Linked DNA regions of Homo sapiens: regions 1, 2, 3, 4, 5 and 6 are each linked to region 7. The links are contacts of gene promoters, found by promoter capture Hi-C in blood cells and fetal thymus (Javierre and others, 2016). All regions are on one chromosome and are shown on one strand. Each heading gives the region's core, a stretch centred on a gene start or on the middle of the fragment in contact. The rest is flanking DNA. Distances are from core to core; before and after follow the strand shown. Region 1 has its middle 8.3 kb from the start of TTC32. Region 2 overlaps WDR35 (WD repeat domain 35). Region 3 has its middle 10 kb from the start of LDAH. Region 4 overlaps LDAH (lipid droplet associated hydrolase). Region 5 overlaps LDAH (lipid droplet associated hydrolase). Region 6 overlaps LDAH (lipid droplet associated hydrolase). Region 7 holds the start of PUM2 (pumilio RNA binding family member 2).

Region 1 (2,911 bases), core at 163-2,662, 460 kb before region 7:
CATCGGGGAAACAGCTCCATGATTCAATTACCTCCACCTGGTCTCTCCCTTGACATGTGGGGATTATGGGGATTACAATTCAAGATGAGATTTTGGGTGGGGACACAGCCAAACCATACCAAGGGTTTTTTGTTGTTTCTTCAGTAGTAGGGCCAAAATGTTTTTTGAAGTTAAGCACGATTCTTATAAGAATATAGAATGAAAATGTGAAAAATGTTTAACTCATTAATAGAGAACCGCCAGAGTGGTAAAAGAGCATTAGAATAACTGAGTACTTATGGTCCATGAAGAAAGAATTTGGGAATAAAGTTGCTAGGTTAAATACAAAACTGGTTAACGTTCTTCAGGGCAATACAGCCAAAACTTTTGGGGTTATCTTTTCTACCAGAGTTCATTTGCATCTCCTCTGGACAAAAATCTGCAAGTTACATGCAACCTCCCAGAGTCTGGGCCCTAATCAAGAGTAAATAGAAAATCAAAGAAAGGCACACACATGGCTCCCCAAAAGAATTAAACAGTCGTTGAGTGGGTCTGCTGGTATGATATTGAAATGCCATGCAAATCCTTTTGCCTTATTTCTACGTATTGGATGCTTTTTTTGACATAAGATAAAAATTTACATATTGGCAGCTGTAGCTATCTAGTTTCCAAATGGAGTTTGCTCTTAAAATTAATCTGCTTTTCACCATCTTTTGTGTCTGTTTTTAATAAGAAAAATGACCACCAAGCAATGTGGGCATTGCAATAACATTCCATTATTTAAAAACATACTTTAATATTATTCTGATACTCACTTTGCTGGGTACTAAAACATTTTATGAGCAATTTAAATTTTTTATCAGGACCAAAAAAAAAAAAAAAAGTCCACATATCTGCTGTGAGTTGATGCCAACAGCAAAAACATTGATACTCATTGCAGTTTCAAATATTTATATGGATTTTGGACACAACCTTGCACAAGTTACTCAATTTCTTAGCTTCATCCTCTATGCAGAATAAGACCTTCACTAAACTGCTATATTTATGATTTTGTGATGACACATATAAACCTGGGATTACACTGTTGTGTTCCTATTTTACTTTTATATCCACATTCATAATTTCAGTTTCGGGGCTTCCTTACAGGTTGCTTGTTTTATAATTTGTCTTGCTACATGACGTGTTCTTTTACCTTCTTGTGATTTTAAAAAGGATAAACTATGTGTTTTAATTGTATCAATTGCTTTGTTTTTTCAAAAACAGAAATTAGACTATACTCATCCTTCTTTCCTTTCTGTAGAGTGAAATGGTGTCATTTGAAGTCCCTTAACATTAGATTTGAAATTTAACAAATCTCACTCTCCCTCTTTTACCAACTGCCATTTTAAATTATGGGCATTCTGTTCTCACAATTTACTGTCACATTTTTTAGAAACACAGAAAACACCAAAATGTGAATTTATATAGAAATTGTTAAAATTACACACCTAGCGTAAATAGCAAATATTCAGTCAACTTTTCACTATGCTCTTGAAAAGCTATTACACATTTGTCAACAATTTGTTTAGCGTAGCAATATGTTAACCTAAACACACTAAATTCAGCATCCATTTCAGGCAGAGATGAGCCGTCTGATTTACTCAACACATTTCTAGTTAGAGAGCATCACATGAGACAAAGTGGAATCGTGCCACATATTTGAATGAAGCCAGAAGCAGCACTTTTTAGGACTCTTAGATCTGTTTTGTGCATGAGCTGTTGTTTTTGAAACACTCTCATGTTTAGTCATTAATTTGCATAAAATTTTTTCTGTGTTGTAACTTTAAGTGCAGTTTGCATGCAAGACCAGTATACCCAAAAACCTTGAAAAAATGGTGCAGCAACTCTGAATATACCTTCAAACCATTGAACTGTACACTTTAAATGGGTAAACTATATGATATATGAATTATTCTCAATAAAACAAAAAACTAGCACAGTAAACATTCATGCTCAGCCTAGACAATGTGGTGAAACCCTATCTCTACAAAATATACAAAAATTAGCTGGGCATGATGGCGCATGCCTATAGTCCAAGCTACTTAGGAGGCTGAGGTGGGAGGATCACCTGAGCCCAGGGAGGTCAAGGCTGCAGTGAGCTGTCATCAAGCTACTGCAATCCAGCCTGGGCAACAGAGTGAGACCCTGTCTCAAAAAAGAAAAAAAAAAAACATGCTATTACGGTTTATATACAAACTGTTTACTTCTGAGTTAAATTTTTAAGGGGGCTAGACTTAGCAGAAAGGGAGACATTGAGACAAGAATCAGTGTAAACGCTGAGTGGTAGGTGGGGTTGAAATATATCATGCCCACGGAGAAAGATTTAAGACCTACAAAATGACAGGGAGCCAAGGCTACATTTAGGATTCAGAGGGTAGAGAAGCCAGTGAAAAACAGAAAACCAAAAAAGACAGAGCAAAAGAGCAAATGACAGAGCAAAAGAGCAAATAGATAATGACTAAAGACTAACTTGGATATTTGCTTTGCTATCATAAAGTAAAGGGTTTTATTCAGTTCCAAATTTCAGAAAAAAACAAATAGCTCCACACTTTTCAACTACTGTTAGGAGTAATATTCTAAACTCAAAAGTAACTTAAATCCATTTTATCCTATCTTACCTCACTTTGTGAAAGAGAAACCTTATAACAAACCACAATTCTTTTGTTTTTACAAAGGAAAAAATTAGAAAACATAAGTTACTTTTCTAGTAGAAAAAGGAAATAACGAATACTGAAATGTGGGAAATATGAACGGTAATGAATATATTTTAAGGTAAATATCCAAGGTATTATTTGGTCAATCAGAAACTTAGAATCTGAATAATGCCTAAAGTTTCAACGCTAAACAAGGTAAATGAATTATTCTTTATTTCCAGTAACAAGACAAGAGAAAA
Region 2 (3,366 bases), core at 1-2,500, 390 kb before region 7:
TAAGAAGTATTAGTTAGACATGGTTGCTATTGTTCTTTTCACTTTTATCACCTACATAGGATTTTATAATAAAACCATATATAAATTCTCAGTTACTACAAAAAATAGAAATATATCTGAAAAATATGTTCTTTTGAATCAGTAAGGTGGTAATTTCAGCAAATTCATATGGGTAGATAATCCTATCTATACATATTTTGCTAGATCTTTATTAAGATTCATCCCATCTAGACTAAGCTTCTAGGAAAAGCAAAACAAAATCTTAACAGATACAATGTTTTAGGACAAGAACACAGCCAAGATGAAGGCCCTCCATGCCCTTTTTGACTGTTCAATATCTGAAAAGAAAAAAATTTGAAATATCTAGAAAGGTTATTGGATTTTTTTTTTTTTTGAGACGGTGTCTTGCTGTGTCACCCAGGCTGGAGAGCTGTGGCACGATCTTTGCTCAGTGCAACCTCTGCCTCCTGGGTTCAAGCGATTCTCCTGCCACAGCCTCCCAAGTAGCTGGGATTACAGGTGCATGCCACCATGTCTGGCTAATTTTCGTATTTTTAGTAGAGATGGGGTTTTGCCATTTTGGCCAGGCTGGTCTTGAACTCCTGACCTCAGGTGATCTACCCACCTCAGCCTCCCAAAGTGCTGGGATTACAGGAGTGAGCCACCATGCCCAGCTTGGAAAAAAAGTTTTTAAGAAAATAATTATGCTTTCATTAACTGAACTTTGTAATGCTAATAGGCAGTCATTACTAGCCAAGCAAGGATGTAAAATAATTTAAAACAATCTTGGAATTCACATATAAATAAAACCTGCTTGTAATATTTTAATGCTAAGGCATGAAATAAATGCCTACATCTGTAATGTTCACCCACTTTCCCATTTATTCATTTCTCAGCCCTTTCAAGTGCTGGTAAATTGAAATTTCACTGAAATGTTTTCATCAAATTAACTTTCTCTAAAATATATGGAAAACCTAGTGCACGTGTTAGATACCATCATTAGAAAGCTGCCCATGTGCTCCCACTAAAATGGCTGCAGCATAGGCAAACTGGTACTTGATGGCCACTTTCCATGCCTTCATTCCTCTGCAAATGCCGTTTTCTTTCCTTGAAATATCACCTAAAGAAATACTTACTTTTCAAAACTCAGCTCAAATGAAACCTTCTCTAAGTAGAAAGATGTCTCTGATGTCCTTATGCACCAATAACCATTTACCTGGCACCTAGAGCAATACCTAGCACGCAGTAGGGAAGCAATAAATCACTGTTCAATGAATTAACTAGGTTTTAATTATTTGTTCAGAAATCCCACAGGAAATGTCATAATTAATTTCTTATTATTCCCAGTGACCAGTACAGTACCTGAAACAGTATATACTCATTGATAGTTTGCTAAATAAATGAATCATCATTTTTTATTTACATGATAGAAAATAAATAATTTCCATGCATTCAATAAACATTTATTATGGGCCAAGGCAGTGTTAGGTCATGGGGATACAGAAGTTAATTAGACGTAGATCTTTAAGAAGTTCAAAGTCTAGTGGGGAAGATAGACAAGAAAATTAGTAACCACAGTGCAGGTTAAGAGGTATTTTGGATGGAAGCACACCAAAGGTATTATGAGTGCTCAAGAAAAGAACACCAAAAAAGGATACCTAACTCTCATGTGTAGAGTATAACAGAGTCCCACAAACTACACTTCTATAATAATCTATAAAGTTCATTTTAAAGTTTCTACAAAAATTATAAAGAGGAAGAGTAGGTGGCAAAACAAAAATAATAAATTCTAGAAGAGTATCACTCACAGACTTTTTTTATTTTAGCCTCTAGTCCTCATAAACATTTGGCATAGAAACTTTAAAAAAGAAATTTTACAGGATATGTATGAAACAAAAATGTTGAGTCTTTGGCTGTGTTCACTGCAGGCCAATGAAAGAACTGTTTGTTAAAATCTCAGTCAGCAAGACTACAAAAAAAAAAAGTTTTGAGACTCAAAAATACAAATAGTCATGCTCTCAAGTATTTGCCATTTTATGAAGAAGGATTTACATTTAGCTTTATTTTAAAAAAACAGTCTACTTGTGATAAAAATTACTTTGACATTAACCCTATCACCATTATGATTCTATGTTAAAACTTTGGATATTAAAAGAAAAAGCATATAATCTGAAGACTGACAAAATTTACCTCTTAAAGACTGTTAATGCTTCTAATAAACAAGAGATATTTATGTGATGAGAGTCTGTTAATAATTTTAAGCTAAGCTTTTTAACAAGGAACACTAATGTGTATATATATGTGTATATAAATATATACACATATAAAACATATAAACATGCCTATGTAGCAATGAATGTAAGACATGAAGTTGAAATGTGTCAATATATCTAAGTGAGTAGGTTATCAAGACCCTAAGCCATAGAGTATAAAGTCTTTGAGGTCATTATTTCTCATATTTGCTATTATCACCCAAACACTTAGCAATTTTTTCAACAAACACTTAGCAAAATGCAAACACTCAAAAGGCAACAGGCATTAATACTTAATTGCTTAGGCTAAATGTCCAATATGAAAAAAAAATGACTAGTTCTCAGGTTCTCAGGAATAATGCAATGGGTTTTTAATTTCTTAGATTTAATAATTTTTACAATACTGTATCCAATATACTACCATACACATTAAAAGAAAATCATTACTTTTGGAAGTTACAGTGAAATGGCAACAAAATACTTGTTAATGATTTTTAATAATCTACTTAGAATAAGATTTGGAATTTTTAATGGGTTACTTTCATAGTTATTGGGTAGAGGGAATAGTAAATCTAAAGTAACAAAAGTCCTTTGAAAACAAAAAGTCAGGAATTTTTAAAACTGTCCCTATTAATAGACTCATTTCATTAGAAAAATCTGGAAAGGGCAAACTCACTTTTACAAGCAGCCAAAGTGTTTTTATGGAAGAGAGGTATTTACAAGCAGTTTATTAATAATGAAAGTGGTTTAATAGCAAAATTCTTTCTATAATCCTCAGTTTATTACATACTAATCATTACGCTGCATACCAATTCCTACACAATTATATTTCCCATTTAAAGCGAATGATGGTACTATAGCAGTTGTGAAATTATAATGGATTTTAGATAGACTAACCTTATAATTTACTGTCTTAACCAGGATACTTTTGAGAGTAAAATGGGATATTAAGAATTCTACCATGGTAACAGATATAAACTGGTACTGGATCTGACAAAGTAGGAAGTATGGTCATCCTCGTTTTAGAAAACACCATTCTAATTAATAATACCAGTGTTAGGTTTTTAAATTAGTGTTACAAATAAAACCTGATTGGAAAAGAAATAAATATCAA
Region 3 (3,089 bases), core at 491-2,990, 480 kb after region 7:
ATGTCACAATGACAGCAAGCCAGAGAAATGGGTAATACTCAGATCTTCATGGTAGAAGAGAATAATCTGGTGGATATTAGAATGCTAGAAGGACCTGTGCTCATTAATCAAAAATGTTCCCCTCTACCTTATTATTCCATTCCACAAAAAGTGGAAACTCCTGGTTTAGACATCTGTTGAATTAATATGTGTGGTTGATGATTATATAAAAGGCAACAAGAGGAAGAAAAAGGAAAGAGAACAAAGGGATGAGAGAAAAAAAAGATATTTTTTCAAAGTTTAGAAGACAAAGATTTCTCTTCAATGTGTACTCTAGAGATCAGACCACGAGTCATAAATGTTAGTGAATTTTGAATTATGTTTTCCCACTGGCTCTAATACTGAATTTTCTTGTTTATATATTTATAAATAGGGATAATTATAAATGCTTTAAAACATATGATTATTTAATGCGGCCCTCCACAAAATGGCACTGGCATATCCTGAGATCCACATTAATTCTTTTTTCAAACACTTTGGGTCAGAAAAACAGATCACATAATGATTCATCTTAAGCATAAATTAAAAATCAAGATCCATTCTTTTTTAAATTTATAAATGTATTATTTTAGTCCTTAAAAATCTTCACAGAATAGAGATAATAGCTAAAAATTGACAAAGCCATATTTAACTCCCATATTATAGCTAAGCTGTTCCTCCTGGCATTTAATTATGCTAAGACTCAAAGAAATAGATGGTCTTGAAAGCCAGCACACTTGAGCTGTGAGACTTGGAGATTCTTGTTGGCAGACTATTCATTGATAGTACTGCCTTCATACATGCACTTGGCTTGTAAAATGAATAAAAAAACCTGGCAAACACCAACATTTAGATGCTTGTGCCATCAAAAATTATACAAAATATATGTATATACTCACATACATTTGTATATATATGTGTTTATGTATATTATAGAGAGAAACTAAAATCATATTTTGAAGACTTTCAAGGTAATTCACCGTTTAGTATAACTGCAATGCCAAATGTTTTGTATTAATCCATGATATGACCCATCAGCCCTCCTCAATGAAACCACATCATAAAGAACCTTTTAGTGGCAGGACAGGGTAGGGTGAGGATAAGAAAAATATGGGAGAAGTAGTTCAACTATCTCTATAAATTAAAAACAAAGTAGAGATTTGTAGGACTAGCTGCAGATGAATATCCCTTTAGAGTACAGTATGTTCCCATTTTATTGGATTCCTCAGAAACTTATTGTCCGTTCAACAAAGCTTTTGTGGGTTAATAATACTGTTACAGGACTTTTCACAAATCATTCCTTTTTATTTTTTAATGGAGACTTTATATTCCCCAGTAAAATAAGAATGGAATCTTTCATAGACAAAACTCCTTCCCATACCATCCACCTATCCAACTGTGGTAGACTGAGCAATGGCACCCCAAAGATGTCCATGTCCTAATCCCTGGAACCTGTGATGCTACCTTATGTGACAAAAAAGATTCTGCAGATGTGATTAAGAAGTGTTAAGGGTCTTGAAAAGGAGAGGTTATCGAAGATTTTCTAGGTGGGCCTAATATAACTACAAGGGTTTGTGTAAGACGGACACAGGAGGGTCAGAATCAGAGATGATACTGTGACTTTGGAAGCACGGGGAGAGAAGGAGATGTGATGGTGGAGGCAGCTGTCAGTCAAAGAGAGGGATTGGAAGATGCTACGCTGCTGGCTGGAAGGTGGAGGAAGGGGTCACAGACCAAGGAATGTAGGCAGCCAATTGCTGGAAAAAGCAAGGAAGTGAATGTTCCTCTAGAACTTCCAGAAGGAACACAGGCCCATCAACATCTTGATTTTAGCCCATTAAAACCGATTTGGAGGCGGCGGGCGCCTGTGGTCCCAGCCACTCCGGAGGCTGAGGCGGGGGAACGGCGTGAACCCGGGGGGCGGAGCTTGCAGTGAGCCGAGATTGCGCCACTGCACTCCAGCCTGGGAGACACAGCAAGACTCCGCCTCAAAAAACAAAAAACAAAAAAAAACCCCATTTTGAAGTTCTGACCTCCAGAGCTGTCTGTAAGATAATACATTAGTATTGTTTTAAGGGCCAAATTTGTGATAATTTGTTGCAGCAACCATAGGAAACTAATAAATCAACTAAATGAAGGCTCAGACCATTTCTGTTTTGAAAACAAATGAATGATATTAGCTAGAGAATCCCAAGCTTCAGAGCACTAGTTGTTGCCAAAGTACTATTATGGTTTCTGTTACACTTTTGCTTTCTTGAATTTAGATACCTTTAAAGCGGTCTCATGTTTGCCTGCCTTCTCACAGTCAGTTTGTGATCACCAAAATATAGGCACACTGTAGCACAGGGTTCAAATCCATTCTTAGATTCCGTTTTCATTTATGGTTTGCTTTAGAATTCTTAGCTGAAATTCACAGAGTTAAACTAAAATATTTTTAAAATGTGAATTTCTAATATTATTAAAATTTTGGAGTCATCTCTTTTGTGTAACATTTCACGGAAATGGGGGAACCACATTCATTCCCTTCCCTCCCTCTTCCCCTCCCCTCCCCTTCCCCCTTCCCTTCCCCCTCCCCTTCCCCCTCCCCTTCCCCCTCCCCTTCCCCCTCCCCTTCCCCCTCCCCCTCCCCTTCCCCCTCCCCCTCCCCCTCCCCTTTCCCTCCTTATCTCCCTCCCTCCCTCCCTCCTTCCTTCCCTCCCTCCCTCCTTCTTTCCTTCCTTCCTTCCTTCCTTTTGTTTCTTTCTTTTCCCAAGATGGTGAGGTTGATATATCAGCTCCAAAGAGTGCCCGTGGCGACTAAGTAGGTACTTTAACTTTTTGGCGGCCCATGTGAGGATGTGGCTCTCTTCCTGTTTGGAGAATGCCCCCATGTGATGAGTCCTATAACATCCTAAGCATTGTGCTAGCCTTGGTTTGAGAAACCTCCTTCTAGTCCAGAGGATATTAGCCCATGTAAAACTGTGCTCATTCTATCGACCAGCTCATCCTCAAGAACTATATTGAAGAGCACACTTGTAAGAGTCAGAAGAAGGGGAGTCCAGCGAACTATAAATGGGTAAGAAGGGCTTTTG
Region 4 (3,373 bases), core at 334-2,833, 340 kb after region 7:
TTGGAACTCATGAGAGTTGATAAAAAGTATACATTATTGAGATAGAAATTTTTCTGTTTCCAAATTGTCATGTTAAGTAACCCATTGTTTTCTATTAAGCACAAAATTTAACTTTTTTTCAGTCTAGATTTTGATTCTCCAGAACCATGCTTTGGCTTTTCCTCCTGTGTTTTCTGCAGGAAAGTGGATTTATGGTTACTATGGTCTCTGGGCTTATAGATGAACTTCCCTTTAACTGTTTAATGTGCACCTAAGGGGACAGGGCCCTCCTAAAATATCCCTGCAGGTTGCTGCAGCTTGTCCCCACATCTGTCTTTTCTTCTGTGTGTTTTTTTTTCCCCACTTTTTGGGGGGTCTACAAACAGCACTGTTGGACAGTGAATTGCTGAAGCTGATAGATTAAAATGAGTTCCACCAAAAATGACTCTGATTCCATCCCATATCTGGTACTAGGCTAAGTGGCTGACATTCAGAAGTGTGTAAGATGGTCTCTGCCCTGGAACAGCTCACAGACTAGGCGAGAGAACAGACCTATATAAACTGGCTCTTAAATACAACAGGCAGACAGAGGTATGGACAAAGCCCTACGGGACCCCAAAGCAGGAAAACCCAAATTCTGCCCTGAGGGAGTGAACATGAACAAAGCTTTGTTTTAGTATACATTTGGAGTTGCATGCTTTTATGCATTACTAATAGAGGATTTATAGTAAGAACAAAGAAATATTAGAAGCATCTTATGATTTAGCTAATAACAAAACTCACTTTCAATGACATAGCAACATCTTAAAATAATAACAATTTTAAAAGCCACACATAAAAATCTCTATCTGAATTATCTGTCTATTCAATAGGACAGTAGGACTACAGGCATTACAGGAATAAAAGGGCTAATAAAATGAAAGTTTTGCATCTCTATATATTTTTGCATATATATATTTGTTGTTGGTGTTAACCTTATGGATAAACTGAATTTTAGAAGCTCTTTAAATCATAATTCACCACGAAGTCAAGTTTGGTACAAACGATATCTCATCAATACAACTTGAAATGTTTCCAACGAGAAATCCAGCTTGATGAGCCTTTGGCACAGACTACTTTGGGTAGTCAATTTGTGGGGTGCCTGTTTTGTGATATAGTGCAGGCCTGAGCAGGGTGGTAAACGGCATTTCTGGGGGTGTCATGCTGAGAGTGAAAGGGCTTCTCATAATGTCTTTATATCACAGTGTGGTAAAATAATTGTATTTATATTATTCTAAAGTAATTTGTGAAACTACTCAAGCTCCTTATGCAGCCAAGAAGAGCGTAGTGCAGTGAGTACAGTGTTAAGACTGTACAGGTCCCTGAGCCATATCCACCTGGACTGGAATCTTGGTTCTGCCATTTATTGGTGCTGTGAGCCTGGACCAGTTACTTAGCTTCCCTGTGCCTGTTTACTCATCTGTAAAGTAAGACAGAACTAGTTACCTGTGGGCTAGTGCTGAGGACTGGAAAACAAAGTGTATCAAGTGCTTTCCACATGGTGGGCACTCTTAAAGGCTGCTGCTTTACAGGTGAGGACAAAGGGAGCTCCTCGACACAGACTGGGCAATGGTGGGCTGGGTGGGTGGGAGCTGTGCCCTGCTCAAGGAAAAAGAATCCACATGACCTTACATTAGCCTTTGAGAAAATATATTCTATTCTGATAAGTTGTTTTTGACATAGGCTCAGAAAATGTATAAGTATTAAACATTTTTTAAAATATAAAACAAAGTTGTTTTACCATATACTTACTCATTATCTAAAAAATGTACATGTCATATTCCCCAGACATGACTGTAGAGAAAGACAGGTGGGGTAGAAGATAAGTCGCCAACCAAATAAACAGTGAAGCACATCCCTATCCTCAAGCCGCCACTAACAGTCAGCTCTTGGTGTGGATTCTATACTTCCACTTTTATAATAAAACCTACTTTTCCTCATAAAGGAGACCTGGAGCCTAAGCTATAGTGCCCTTTGGCTATCCTTGGTTGAGCATCTTCCAAATGAAGAAAGGCACCGACATTCTGGGAGTTACTTTTCTTCCTGGTGAGCTCACAGGGTGAGCCTGTGGGTTCTTGCAGCAGTGAAGGTAATGCCCACCGCTTTTCTGAGCAATGCAAGGCTTTCTGTTAGCACTTCATCAACAGCTGTAGCTCCCTGGCAGCTTACGCTGCATGGCAGGGCAACCAGGAAGCCAGCACTAGAGACAGTGACCAAAGAGGAGTGACACAGATTCTGAGAGAGATCTATCTTCTTGGCCTTTCTTCCAGAGGTCTAAGAAAAATATGTCATTCCTGCTTTCTCCAGGTTTTCTTTCCTTCTTTGAAATAATTTGCACTAGAGCAGGTTTTTTGCTTGTTTCATTGTTTGTGAAAAAAGCAAAAGGTCAGATATAAAGCAGTCGGTTGAATACCAAGGGATCAAATTAGTACCTACACATACAGGCCCCCTACTTCCCAGCTAGGGCCCCTACCCTGCCTTTATCTCCTGTTTTCATCCCCTTGAAGCTTTCCCGGGCTCGGGATATAAACTGTTAGGTCCTCCAATGCATGCCCATTTCTGGGGAGAGTCCAGACAGTCTGGATGACAGCAGCAGGCTTCCACTTCTCCCCTCCCCTCAGAGTCAAAGACATGTAAGCCCCAATCTTGCAATGTTAAAGGAAACCGATTCTGTGATATAAGCATCTCCTTTCAGTTACTTAAAAAATCTTATCCCTGTTGGGGACACAGGCAGCTGCAAAGTGTCAACATTTCACTGCAGTCTTTCTGAGCCTCTGTTTTTAGGGACTTGCAGAATTGCTAAAGAAAGGGAGATGGTTTAGGGACTTCAGTTTTTCCAGTTACCTTGTTTCCTCTCTTCCGTTTATTCCTAACTGGCTCAATTACCATTCTTGAGAAAATGAGAACTGAAATCTCCAAAGATTTTTAAAAAGTGGCTGAGGATGGAGGTGAAAACACAAATGCTTCCCGCCCGTGAACCCTGCTTCTCTCTGCAGGCACAGAGGGGAGCGGTGGGAATGGGAGCGCCAAAGGAGGAGTAGGTCCTATGGGGCACTGTGTGGCTCACTCTCCAGTAGCTGGAACAACCATCTGTGTATACAGCGGTGTGCAGAGCAGCACTCTCCTTTCCGTGTGGCTAACATGTAAAGGGCCAGGATCCTCTCCCTCCCACATACAAGCCACGAGGCCATCAAGTGACTGGCTTGTCTCTTTCTCACGTGAGACTGCACTGAGATGCTAACCCAGGGCCTCTGCTTTCCTCTGGCGAGGCCCTCTGGCAAAGTAAGAGGCCCTGAGCGCCAGTCTCCTTCTGTGTTTCTGTCCTTCCCTGGATCTGTGCCCCAAGAAGGGGGCA
Region 5 (3,295 bases), core at 596-3,095, 410 kb after region 7:
TACAAGTGTGCGCCACCATGCCCAGCTAATTTTTGTATTTTTAGTAGAGACGGGGTTTCACCATATTGGTCAGGCTGGTCTCGAACTCCTGACCTCAGGTGATCCACCCACCTCGGCCTTCCAAAGTGCTGGGATTACAGGTGAGAGCCACCGTGCCCAGCCTGGTGCCTCATTCTTAAATATGAGTGGATAATGAATAAGCACTAGACATTTGAGGAAAGCTTCACTTACAAGAGACAGATCAGTACTTTTTTTAAAAGCATGAAGAAAGGAATTCAGAATGAATACAGACAATGCAGGAGCCCAAAAACTCTAAAAAATGTTTTCCTGAGAGAGAGAGAAAGAGAGACCCATGAAGTAAAAATAAAAAGGATATTACAAAAAGGAAGAAAAGAACAAGAAATTCCTTAGAAACTATTTGCATAGATGCCAAAATCAAAAGTTTAATTAGATGAATTGGAAGATAAAGTAGGGAAAATATCCCCTATTTCTCATTGCAAAAAACTAAAAATTGAAAGAAATGGATAATGGAAAAGAAAATAAATCAAGAAAATCTTTTCTGAAAGTATAACACACAAATAATGAGAAAACAAGTAGAGAAAAAAATACAAGAGTTTTCAGTGTGTAAGTATGCCAGTTTCTGGATTAAAAAGGATAAATAGTCCAAGGAATATCATCAGAAAATATAATACTGACAATAAAGTGAATATTCTAAAACTTTCCAGAGGAAGAAAACAGTTCACAAAAATAATTAAAAACTTGAAATGACATACTTCTCAATAGCAGAGCTGGAAGAACTTAAAGCTCAGCACCAGCTGCTAATGGTGTTGATAGGAGGTGAAGATGGCAGGCTATCTTGTTGGAGAGCAATCTCCTTGCCAAGAACAATTAGAAAAGTTGGGAAAGTTTTTTAAAGTCCCCTTGAAGGCATCAGAGGCAGAGGAGATTTGAAGGCTAAAATGCTAGGGAAAAAGGAACTTCAGAGAGGAGTGCTGAAGTAGCTTTTCTTTGTTATTTGCTGATTTGCAAGCAGTAGCTAAGAAGCCAAGAAGCTGAAGAGAGTTTCTGAAAAATCTTGTGAGCTTGAAGGAAAAACCTGGGAATTGTGTGCCCATAAAAGAGAAGGCACTCTAGGCTTTCAGTGGAAACTATTAAAGGACTATACCCTAGAAGTAACGATGAACTGGAAATAGGCCAGCCCCTCCAAAGATAGCTTTGATTCAACCCAATTCCCAATGGCATCAAAGTGACCTACCCTAAGAATAATTGCAAAAACAAAGGTAAATCCTCCCTGGAGGAAGATAAGATTCTAATATTGTTTTACTAATTTTTCACATATAATGTCAGGTATTCAGTTAAAAAAAATACTTGCCAAGCTGTGATGGTCAATTTTACATGTCAGCTTGACTGGGCCACAGGGTGCCCAGATATTTGGTCAAACAATTTGGATGTGTGAGGGTGTTTCTGGCTGAGATTAACATTTGAATGGTACACTGAGTAAAGCATATTGCCCTCCCTAATGTGAGTGAGCCTCATCCAATCAGTTGAAGGTCTGACTAGAACCAAAAGGTTTAATAAAAGAGAATTCCTTCTGCCTGACCACCTTCAAGCTAGGACTTTTTTTTTTTTCTGTCTTCAGACTCAAAATGAAACATCAGCTCTTCCTGGGTCCTGAGGCTGCCAGCCTTTGGACTGGAATTAAACCATCAGAAATTCTGGCTCTCAGACCTTTGGACTGAAACTACAATTACATCATTGGCTTTCCTAGGTCTGCAGTTTGCTGACTACAGATCTTGGGATTTGTCAACCCCCATAAACATGTGAGCCAATTCCTTATAATAAACCTCTTTCCATGTGCATACATCCCATTGGTTGTTTCTCTGGCAAACCTGGACTAATACACAAGCATACGGATAGACAAGATAATATAACCAAAGCAAAGGAAAAAGCTGAAGTAGGAATGCAACCACATGAGACTTAGATGTTGGAATTATCAGACACAATCTTTATTTATTTTCATGTCAAATATATGATCTCTGAACTTTTATAAAAGTAATGATAATTTTAAAAATTGTTGATGGTACAAAGGAGAATAAAGTCAGATAGGGAGTTTAAAATAACTATAATATGATCAAGATATTAAATGACAAGATGGAGATTTGCAGGAATTAGTAATTATAACAATAAAATGGAAATTTTATAGGCAAAAAATAGAATAACTAAAATTGAGGATGTAACAGATGAGTTTAAAGGTGTTTATACATAGCTCAAGTGAGGATTAGTGAAGTAGAATGTTAAGTCAGAAGAAATATCTAGAACGAGGCAGGGAGACAAACAAAAGAGTTACTGTATGCAGATTATGCTCTAGTTAAAAGGAAAGCTGAAACATCTAACAGGAAAAATCAAAGAAATATGCAATGCCTATAATATAGGGTAGAATATAGAAGAATTATGAGAAAAAGTGTTACCAAAGGAAGGACAGAGTAAAAATGACTGGGAAGAATCAGGAAAGAGTTCACACAGGAGCTCATGTTTGAGATGATTTTCCAGAAGAACAGGAGGCATCAGTTAGATGGTGTGGGACAAAGCAGAAAGGAAGTAGCTCAACAAAGGCACATAGATAGGAAAATATATATCTAGACAATGAGAAATTATAAAGTCAGGATGGAGCCCTAAGTGCAGGGACTGTAAGGCAAACACAGCAACTATGAACGGAAGGAAACAAGGGCCTTAAGGAGAACCCTCCTGGTACCCAGATAACCAGAATATGTCCTTAAGTTTTTATGAAATCTCTTCTGAAAAAATGTCTATTGACATTAATATAATATTACTGAAGCTCTCAGAGACTTTCTCCTTTGTAAGAGGTTATAAGAAGCTCCTCAGCATCTTCCTAAGGGTAGTAGATTATGAAAGGGGAAAAGGCTGAATCTCTAACACTCAATTTGGCTTTTTGCAGAAGCTCCCATAACAGTACTGGTGAGGGGAGAAACTATTTGTTGAAATGGAGTTTCTAGACTGTGTCTTCATTCATGCATGCTCCCTCTGGTCTCTATATGACTGACCCTGGAAAATGATTTACTGTCTGGCTTCCTAGGGAGAGGTTTGCAGTATGACGCTGGCTTCCATCTTTTATGTATCAATACACCTTCCTGATACCTGACAATCTTGCTTCTTCCCAAACAAATACAATTAGTCTGAAATGGCCTGGAATGTGAGATCTCAAAGCAACCACATTTTATTCTTGTGAAGCATCTTTCATTTAGTGCCTAGCTTTCATTTAGTGCCTGCTAGGCTT
Region 6 (3,195 bases), core at 400-2,899, 460 kb after region 7:
TTAAGAAAATAAAGTGTTCTCAGGAAACATTGGGTGTTCCAGTTACTCTCGCTATCTAAAATATTACTTTAAAACTTAGTGGCTTAAGACAACCATTTACTATGCTTATGGATTCTGTGGGTCAGGAATTCAGAAAGGGCACAACAAAGATAGCCTATCTCTGATCCAAAGTCTGGGGCCTTAGCTGAGAAAACTCAAGAACTGGGTGTGATCTGATCACTGGAGGCAGGAGTCATCTGGAAGTATCTTTGTTCATATGCTTGGTGACTGATGCTGTTGTCACATAGGCTGTTGGCCTGGAACACCTGCATGTGCCTTCTCCATTTGGCCTGCCAATATGGGCTACTTAAGCTTCTTCAGAAAATGGTGGCTTGGTTCCAAGAGCAAATGTCTCAAGAGTACCAGATTAAAGTTGTATCACCTTTTATGACCTACCCTCAAAAGTCACATAGCATCACTTCCATGTTAGACAGAAGCCCATCAATATTCAAAGACAGCATGTTCTTTGTACAATATGACTGTGACATTTCTACTGAGAGGGGTCAGTAGAAGAAGTGTCAAAGTCATATTGTAAAAAGAACATGTGGTATGGGAGTTACTATTGTGGCCATCTTTGGAAAACACAATCTGCAAAGTTAAGTTAAACACAAAGGCACATAAGCTTTACTTCTGAGGAACTTTTTCAAAGCACACCGATAAGAACTGAGAATGCTTTAGAGGGGGACATAGTATACAACAGGGGTCCACAATCCCTGGGCCATGGTCTGGAACTGGTTAGGAACCAGGCCACATAGCAGGAGATAAGCGGCAAGCAAGCATTACTGCCTGAGCTCCGCCTCATGTTAGATCAGTGGAGGCATTAAATTCTCACAGGAACGCAAACCCTATTGTGAACTGTGCATGCGAAGGATCTAGGTTGTATGCTCCCTATGAGAAACTAACGCCCAGTGATCTGAGATGGAACAGTTTCATCCCAAAACCATCACTCCCCACTCCCCACCATTTGTGGAAAAATTGACTTCCACAAAATGGGTCCCTGGTGCCAAAAAGGTATTCGACCTTCTTTTTTTTTTTTTTTTGAGACGGAGTCCCGCTCTCTCGCCCAGGCTGGACTGCAGTGGCGCGATCTCGGCTCACTGCAAGCTCCACCTCCCGGGTTCACGCCATTCTCCTGCCTCAGCCTCCCGAGTAGCTGGGACTACAGGCGCCCGCCACCACGGCCGGCTAATTTTTTTGTATTTTTAGTAGAGACGGGGTTTCACCGTGTTAGCCAGGATGGTGTCGATCTCCTGACCTCGTGATCCGCCCATCTCGGCCTCCCAAAGTGCTGGGATTACAGGCGTGAGCGGCCGCGCCCGGACTCAACCTTCTAAAAACTGATTTGACTATATTTCATTAATGGTGATCCTACTAATCTCTCTCATTAATACCTCATCTCCTTCCTCAGAACAGTTTGGGAAGATGTTGGAGGAAAGATAATCTGGTGGATTTAAAAGGCAGAGGGACTGGATTAACTGGATTAAACTAGTTTTTTTTTTTTGTTTTTTGAGATGAGTCTTGCTCTGTCGCCCAGGCTGGAGTGCAGTGGCGCGATCTCGGCTCAAAGCAAGCTCTGCCCCCGGGGTTCACGCCATTCTCCTGCCTCAGCCTCCCGAGTAGCTGGGACGACAGGCGCCTGCCACCATGCCTGGCTAATTTTTTGTATTTTTAGTAGAGATGGGGTTTCACTGTGTTAGCCAGGACGGTCTCGATCTCCTGACCTCGTGATCCACCCCTCTCGGCCTCCCAAAGTGCTGGGATTACAGGTATGAGCCACCTCACCTGGCCTAAACTAGTTCTTTTAAGAGGACTATGAAAGACAGAAAAAACACAAGATTACACTAGAGTTTGGCAGCTATCAAAATAATCTTGTTTAGATTATTTCAAAATATCCTGTTTAGATTATTTTGATAATAATCAATCAAATGTAGGCAAGAGTGGGAATGAAAAAGGAGTGAATGAGAGTCTTGGTAATGATATGGAGAACCAGGGAAGGGAAAGGGGCAGAGATGACAGATTTTGATGCCAAAGATGAGGGGAATGAAAGCACTCCTCACATACATATAGGGGGAAATGTAAAAGAAGGGAATTTAGTGGGAGGAAAGGAAGCTGGGATTAGTTACAAATGTAGTTTAAGTTTCAAGAAAATAAGGAACAAGGCCAGAAGACAATGTGAGCCACAGAACTAAAGCTCAAGAGAGAACAAAGTAGACATACAGTTTCTCCAGCAGCTTCTTAAAGAAATTCTCTATTTTGGCTTCTATGCCACCTCCCAGTCCTCAATGGGAACCTTTTCCTCTCCTATTCCCTGTCCCCAAAGTTTCTGCCCTGGATTCCCTTCTCTATATGCTCTCCCCTGGAGATTACATCCACTTCGAGAATTAGCCAAGTGAGAGAATCCTTTATATCTACTTCTCAAGTTCCTGTCAAGTTTTTCCAGCTATTGAGCATTTTCATCTGGGTGCCTCATTGATGCATAAAACTTCTGCAGAGCAAGTATCAAAATCATCTTGTTTTAAAAATCAACCCTATAAACCCTACATCATGACTTCTCTGCTGCCATATATGGACTAATATTCTCCCAGTCACCCTAATTCAAAAGCTTCTTTGGCAACCCCTGCTATATTTTGGGAGCAATATCCATAGGTAAGGAAAAAAGATATCAGCAAAATAAAAAGGAACAATTAGAAACAGGCATTAACTAAGACATGTAAAGTAATGTAAGCCAGTGAGGAGTGTTTCAAGAAAGTGGCAGGATGGTGATAAAGTTTTAAAAATAGATATTAACAAATGTCCAAGAGCGTAAGAACCAAGGCAACAGTAAGAACTAATAACTGAGAGTGCTTTCTGTAAGCCAGGTACTGTGCTAAGCACTTAACAGATGCTATCTAAATTTAATCCTGATGACAACCCTATAGATGGGTACTATTATTTCATCCTCCCACCCCAAGAAAATATGTGAGAAAATTGATTCAAAGACATTACGCAATTTGCCTAAGTCACACAGCTAGTAAGTTGTAAAGTGGCAGAGTCAGAATTTGAATCCAGAAATGTCTGAAAGATTCCAGAGCTCATGTTCTTTATTTTTAAAATTCTACTTATATGCATATATATAATTTCACTTATATGGATAAATGAGATATAATGCATGCTGTG
Region 7 (3,009 bases), core at 240-2,739:
AGAAAATTCTACACAATGCAATTTCACCAAAAATCGGAATTTTAAAGAAATTCTTGCAGCACGGAAAATGCCATCATTTTTATTCATAATGATTGAGCAAATGAAGTAAATCATTGTTTAAAAGGAGGCTAGGAAGAGAAACAAGTTGAAAATACTCATTTTTGTTTTTTTTTTTTTATTTACAGGATTCCTTAAGTCATCTTCCAATACTCCAGGTCACATGGTGAAGAGTCACCTGTTAAACACGAAATCTAACCATTAAACAAGCTTTTAAAATCCTTCGGTAACTCCCTTTATTAAAATTGTTTTCTTGACATACAGTACCTTTACAGGTATTACATTTCTCTTCACCGTTTACAAGCATTTTTCTCATGTTTTCCTTCACCAAAACATCTGCCCCGTTTTCTCAACAAGTAAAAATCTCAAAGTACTAAGTCCTAACATGATGTCTTATTGCACCTAATATGCTGGCAATACATTCCTCTCTTCAAAAGTTTACGTATGTTAGAATAAAAAGCTAAGTTAAGTAGGTTTTCTCTGGCTGTGTTTTCAGAAACAACACTAACTTTTACACGTGTTTGGGCATGAAACTTTAAACATTTTCCCCAAAACCTGACCCAATTCAGATACAAAACTACTGCTCAAATAGTAGAAGCCGCTAATCTTGTCTTTGGTTTTAATTTACATATTTTTCTGAATATCGAAATCCGTTCCTATAACCTAAACAAGGCGAATCCAAGTCACTGCTTCATACCCACATCTGTCCACGGCAAGCTTTTCCCGGACACACTCGGGCCTTTGAAAATGCCCACACTTGTTTTCATAAACCCACTCCTTCCTCTTCACCCACTTGCAATCCGCATGCTTCTCTGGGGCCACCCGGCCTCTCCCCTCTTTCCGAACCCTAGGGCCGACAGCTCGGTCTCTAACCTCCAGCGCGCCGAATCGGAGGGAGAACCGGGTCGGCGCCCCACGCCCCCGAGGCGGCGGCCCCGCAGAGGGAAGGAAGCGGGAAAGCGGCCGGCGCGGCGCCCCCTCCCCCGCACGCGCACACCCCCTTCCGGCACCCCTCCCCCTGCATTGTGCGAGCGGGCCCCAGGCCGCACCGGCCCGGGCACTCAGCAGGCCCTATCCGCCCTCCCGCTGGCGATCGGCTCCCGCCGAGGCCGCCGCACAAAGCCTGGGGAGCCATCCTCGACGGCGCCAAAGGACCGGAGAAAGAGCGAACGCGGACTGACTTACAGGGCTGCTGCGGCCGCGCTGCCTCAGCCGGGGACACCGACCGTTGGGCACACGGCGGCGTCGCTCTTGGCGGTCCTCCCCCTCCTCCGCCTTCGGTGGCGGCAATGTCTTCTTTCTCCACCTACCACCCTCCCCCCCCACCCCACCTCCTCCTTCTCCTCCCCCTCCTCCTCCGAACCACCGAAGTACCGAGGGTGAGACACAGAGACTCACAACAACATGGCTGCCACCGCCGCCTGCCCTCCCCTCCCCCCCGCCCACCGGGCGCGCGCAGTGCACCCCGGGAGAAAGGGGAGGGGGAGCGCTCACCAAGGCGCGGCTCCTTTTAATGCCTTGCGTCCCTGCTCCCGCGCTGCCGCCGCGCGGGCCGGGGGCGCCCTGCGCGTGCGCACGTTCTCCGCGCTCTCACGTGTTTGGCCGCCTCTCCGGCGTGCCCTCCCCCGCCCTCACCTTGCGGGCTCGCGCTTCCCTCCTGGGCTCCGCCGCGGCGGGCTCGGAGAGCGCAGGCGTACTGTTGCCAAACGCTGTGTTCGACTGTCTTCCCGCGTGGGGCCTCGCCTTCTGAATCTTCTTACCCTCGGCTTCCTACCCGGTTGCTCACTGTTTTCCCCCAACTGGGTGTGCGGGTGTCTGCGCCCGCGCCGCCCACCGTGGGGTACTCCTGGCATTTCGCTTCCAGAGTGCTGGCGCCCACAAGAGCCGGACGTTAATTCAGGCCTTTAACTTTCACTCTGTACCTCCCCACAACCAGACGAGGGAGATGCATCTGGGGGTGGAAGATTGTACCCTGCGAGAGGGCTGTCACTCTTCTCGTGGTTGCACCCCAGGCAGGTGGAGCCAGCTCTCAGCAAATTGTCGGCCCCCAGTGCTTGGTCCCGGTGCACACAAAGGAAACTCAGGTCGTTCTCCAGCTGGGCCAGTGATTCTCACTCGTTGGCTGTTTCTTTTTCTCGCGTACTAAGCGCTCTCTCCTTCCCCGTTTACAGGCTAGTTGGAAACTCCAAATCTGCCTTGCTGTCCTGGACCCCCATGCAAAGCAGTGGTGATTCCAGGATTCTAACCTAACCGGCTCCAGGTCACACAGCTGTAACAGGCACCGTGTCCGATTTGTTCTTGATGGTTTGTTTGCACAGCTCCTGGCTCTCCTGACATGCTGCACTTCGTAAATATTCAGGGCCTCCCGTATAGTTTGCTTAATATATGTCTTCCCTAGGCGACTGTGAGCTCCACGAGGGCAAGGACCTTGTGTTTTGTTTCACACTGTGCCCGCAAGTGCCTGTTGAATACACATGGGCTCTTCGGTTTTTAACTATTACTGAAAAATGTCTGACATTGAAATCCATCCCAAGCCCCTACCTTAGGCTCATATTTCAGGCTTCTAGATATTTTCACTTGAATTTTCTTGTCACCAAGCATGTTAAAAACTGAAGTCACACCCATCCCCTACCCCCCACTCTTGTACTGTCTCTGTAATTGGCAGTGTCACCACCTATTCATTCCCCAAATTACACCTCTGAGAACCATCCTTGTCTCTTCCTCTTACCCCGACTCCAAATATAAATAACTTACCAAGCCTCGCAGATTTTTACTTCCCAAGTAATTCTGGAGACAGTCTTCCTCTGCCTCCTCACTAATGCTAGCCTTGCTTCCCAGGTCTGGATTTCTGTAGCTGGCTCTTAATCAGCTTTCCTGTCTCCAGTCTCACTCCCTCCAATCAGTTCTGCTCACTGCTATCTAAAATGCAAATCCAATTCCTGGCGCTCAGGC

What was found. The method cuts DNA at HindIII sites, captures the fragments that hold promoters and counts their contacts. A CHiCAGO score of 5 or more calls a contact.
Region 1: a fragment that was not itself captured here is called in contact with the fragment with the promoter of PUM2 in region 7 in 6 of 17 cell types (naive CD8 T cells, naive CD4 T cells, M0 macrophages and 3 more); the score reaches 7.2 in naive CD8 T cells.
Region 2: a contact is called between a fragment that was not itself captured here and the fragment with the promoter of PUM2 in region 7, in 7 of 17 cell types (activated CD4 T cells, erythroblasts, M1 macrophages and 4 more). The highest score is 7.1, in activated CD4 T cells.
Region 3: a contact is called between a fragment that was not itself captured here and the fragment with the promoter of PUM2 in region 7, in 2 of 17 cell types (non-activated CD4 T cells and total B cells). The highest score is 5.9, in non-activated CD4 T cells.
Region 4: a fragment that was not itself captured here is called in contact with the fragment with the promoter of PUM2 in region 7 in 4 of 17 cell types (monocytes, total B cells, neutrophils and 1 more); the score reaches 6.0 in monocytes.
Region 5: a fragment that was not itself captured here is called in contact with the fragment with the promoter of PUM2 in region 7 in 1 of 17 cell types (total B cells); the score reaches 5.8 in total B cells.
Region 6: a contact is called between a fragment that was not itself captured here and the fragment with the promoter of PUM2 in region 7, in 2 of 17 cell types (total CD4 T cells and activated CD4 T cells). The highest score is 5.8, in total CD4 T cells.

The regions. Positions count from the first base shown.
Region 1 is chr2:19,892,215-19,895,125 of GRCh38, forward strand. No RefSeq gene overlaps it. Among named protein-coding and RNA genes, the nearest start is that of TTC32, 8.3 kb to the right of the region's middle. The HindIII fragment of the contact is 3,471 bases long and covers 1-2,911 here.
Region 2 is chr2:19,957,177-19,960,542 of GRCh38, forward strand. All of the region lies in intron 11 of WDR35 (WD repeat domain 35), which reads right to left. Among named protein-coding and RNA genes, the nearest start is that of WDR35, 31 kb to the right of the region's middle. The HindIII fragment of the contact is 2,030 bases long and covers 236-2,265 here.
Region 3 is chr2:20,832,029-20,835,117 of GRCh38, forward strand. No RefSeq gene overlaps it. Among named protein-coding and RNA genes, the nearest start is that of LDAH, 10 kb to the left of the region's middle. The HindIII fragment of the contact is 942 bases long and covers 1,270-2,211 here.
Region 4 is chr2:20,691,676-20,695,048 of GRCh38, forward strand. All of the region lies in intron 6 of LDAH (lipid droplet associated hydrolase), which reads right to left. Among named protein-coding and RNA genes, the nearest start is that of GDF7, 26 kb to the left of the region's middle. RefSeq lists a silencer at 2,141-2,325. The HindIII fragment of the contact is 1,880 bases long and covers 644-2,523 here.
Region 5 is chr2:20,756,173-20,759,467 of GRCh38, forward strand. The region is part of intron 4 of LDAH (lipid droplet associated hydrolase); the gene reads right to left. Among named protein-coding and RNA genes, the nearest start is that of LDAH, 65 kb to the right of the region's middle. The HindIII fragment of the contact is 3,253 bases long and covers 220-3,295 here.
Region 6 is chr2:20,809,957-20,813,151 of GRCh38, forward strand. The region is part of intron 1 of LDAH (lipid droplet associated hydrolase); the gene reads right to left. Among named protein-coding and RNA genes, the nearest start is that of LDAH, 12 kb to the right of the region's middle. The HindIII fragment of the contact is 1,980 bases long and covers 660-2,639 here.
Region 7 is chr2:20,349,355-20,352,363 of GRCh38, forward strand. PUM2 (pumilio RNA binding family member 2) reads right to left here and starts at 1,490. Exons shown (of 21, transcript NM_015317.5): 1 at 1,243-1,490. RefSeq lists a silencer at 873-1,762 and enhancers at 958-1,587, 1,588-2,219, 1,923-2,012, 2,220-2,849. The HindIII fragment of the contact is 4,637 bases long and covers 773-3,009 here.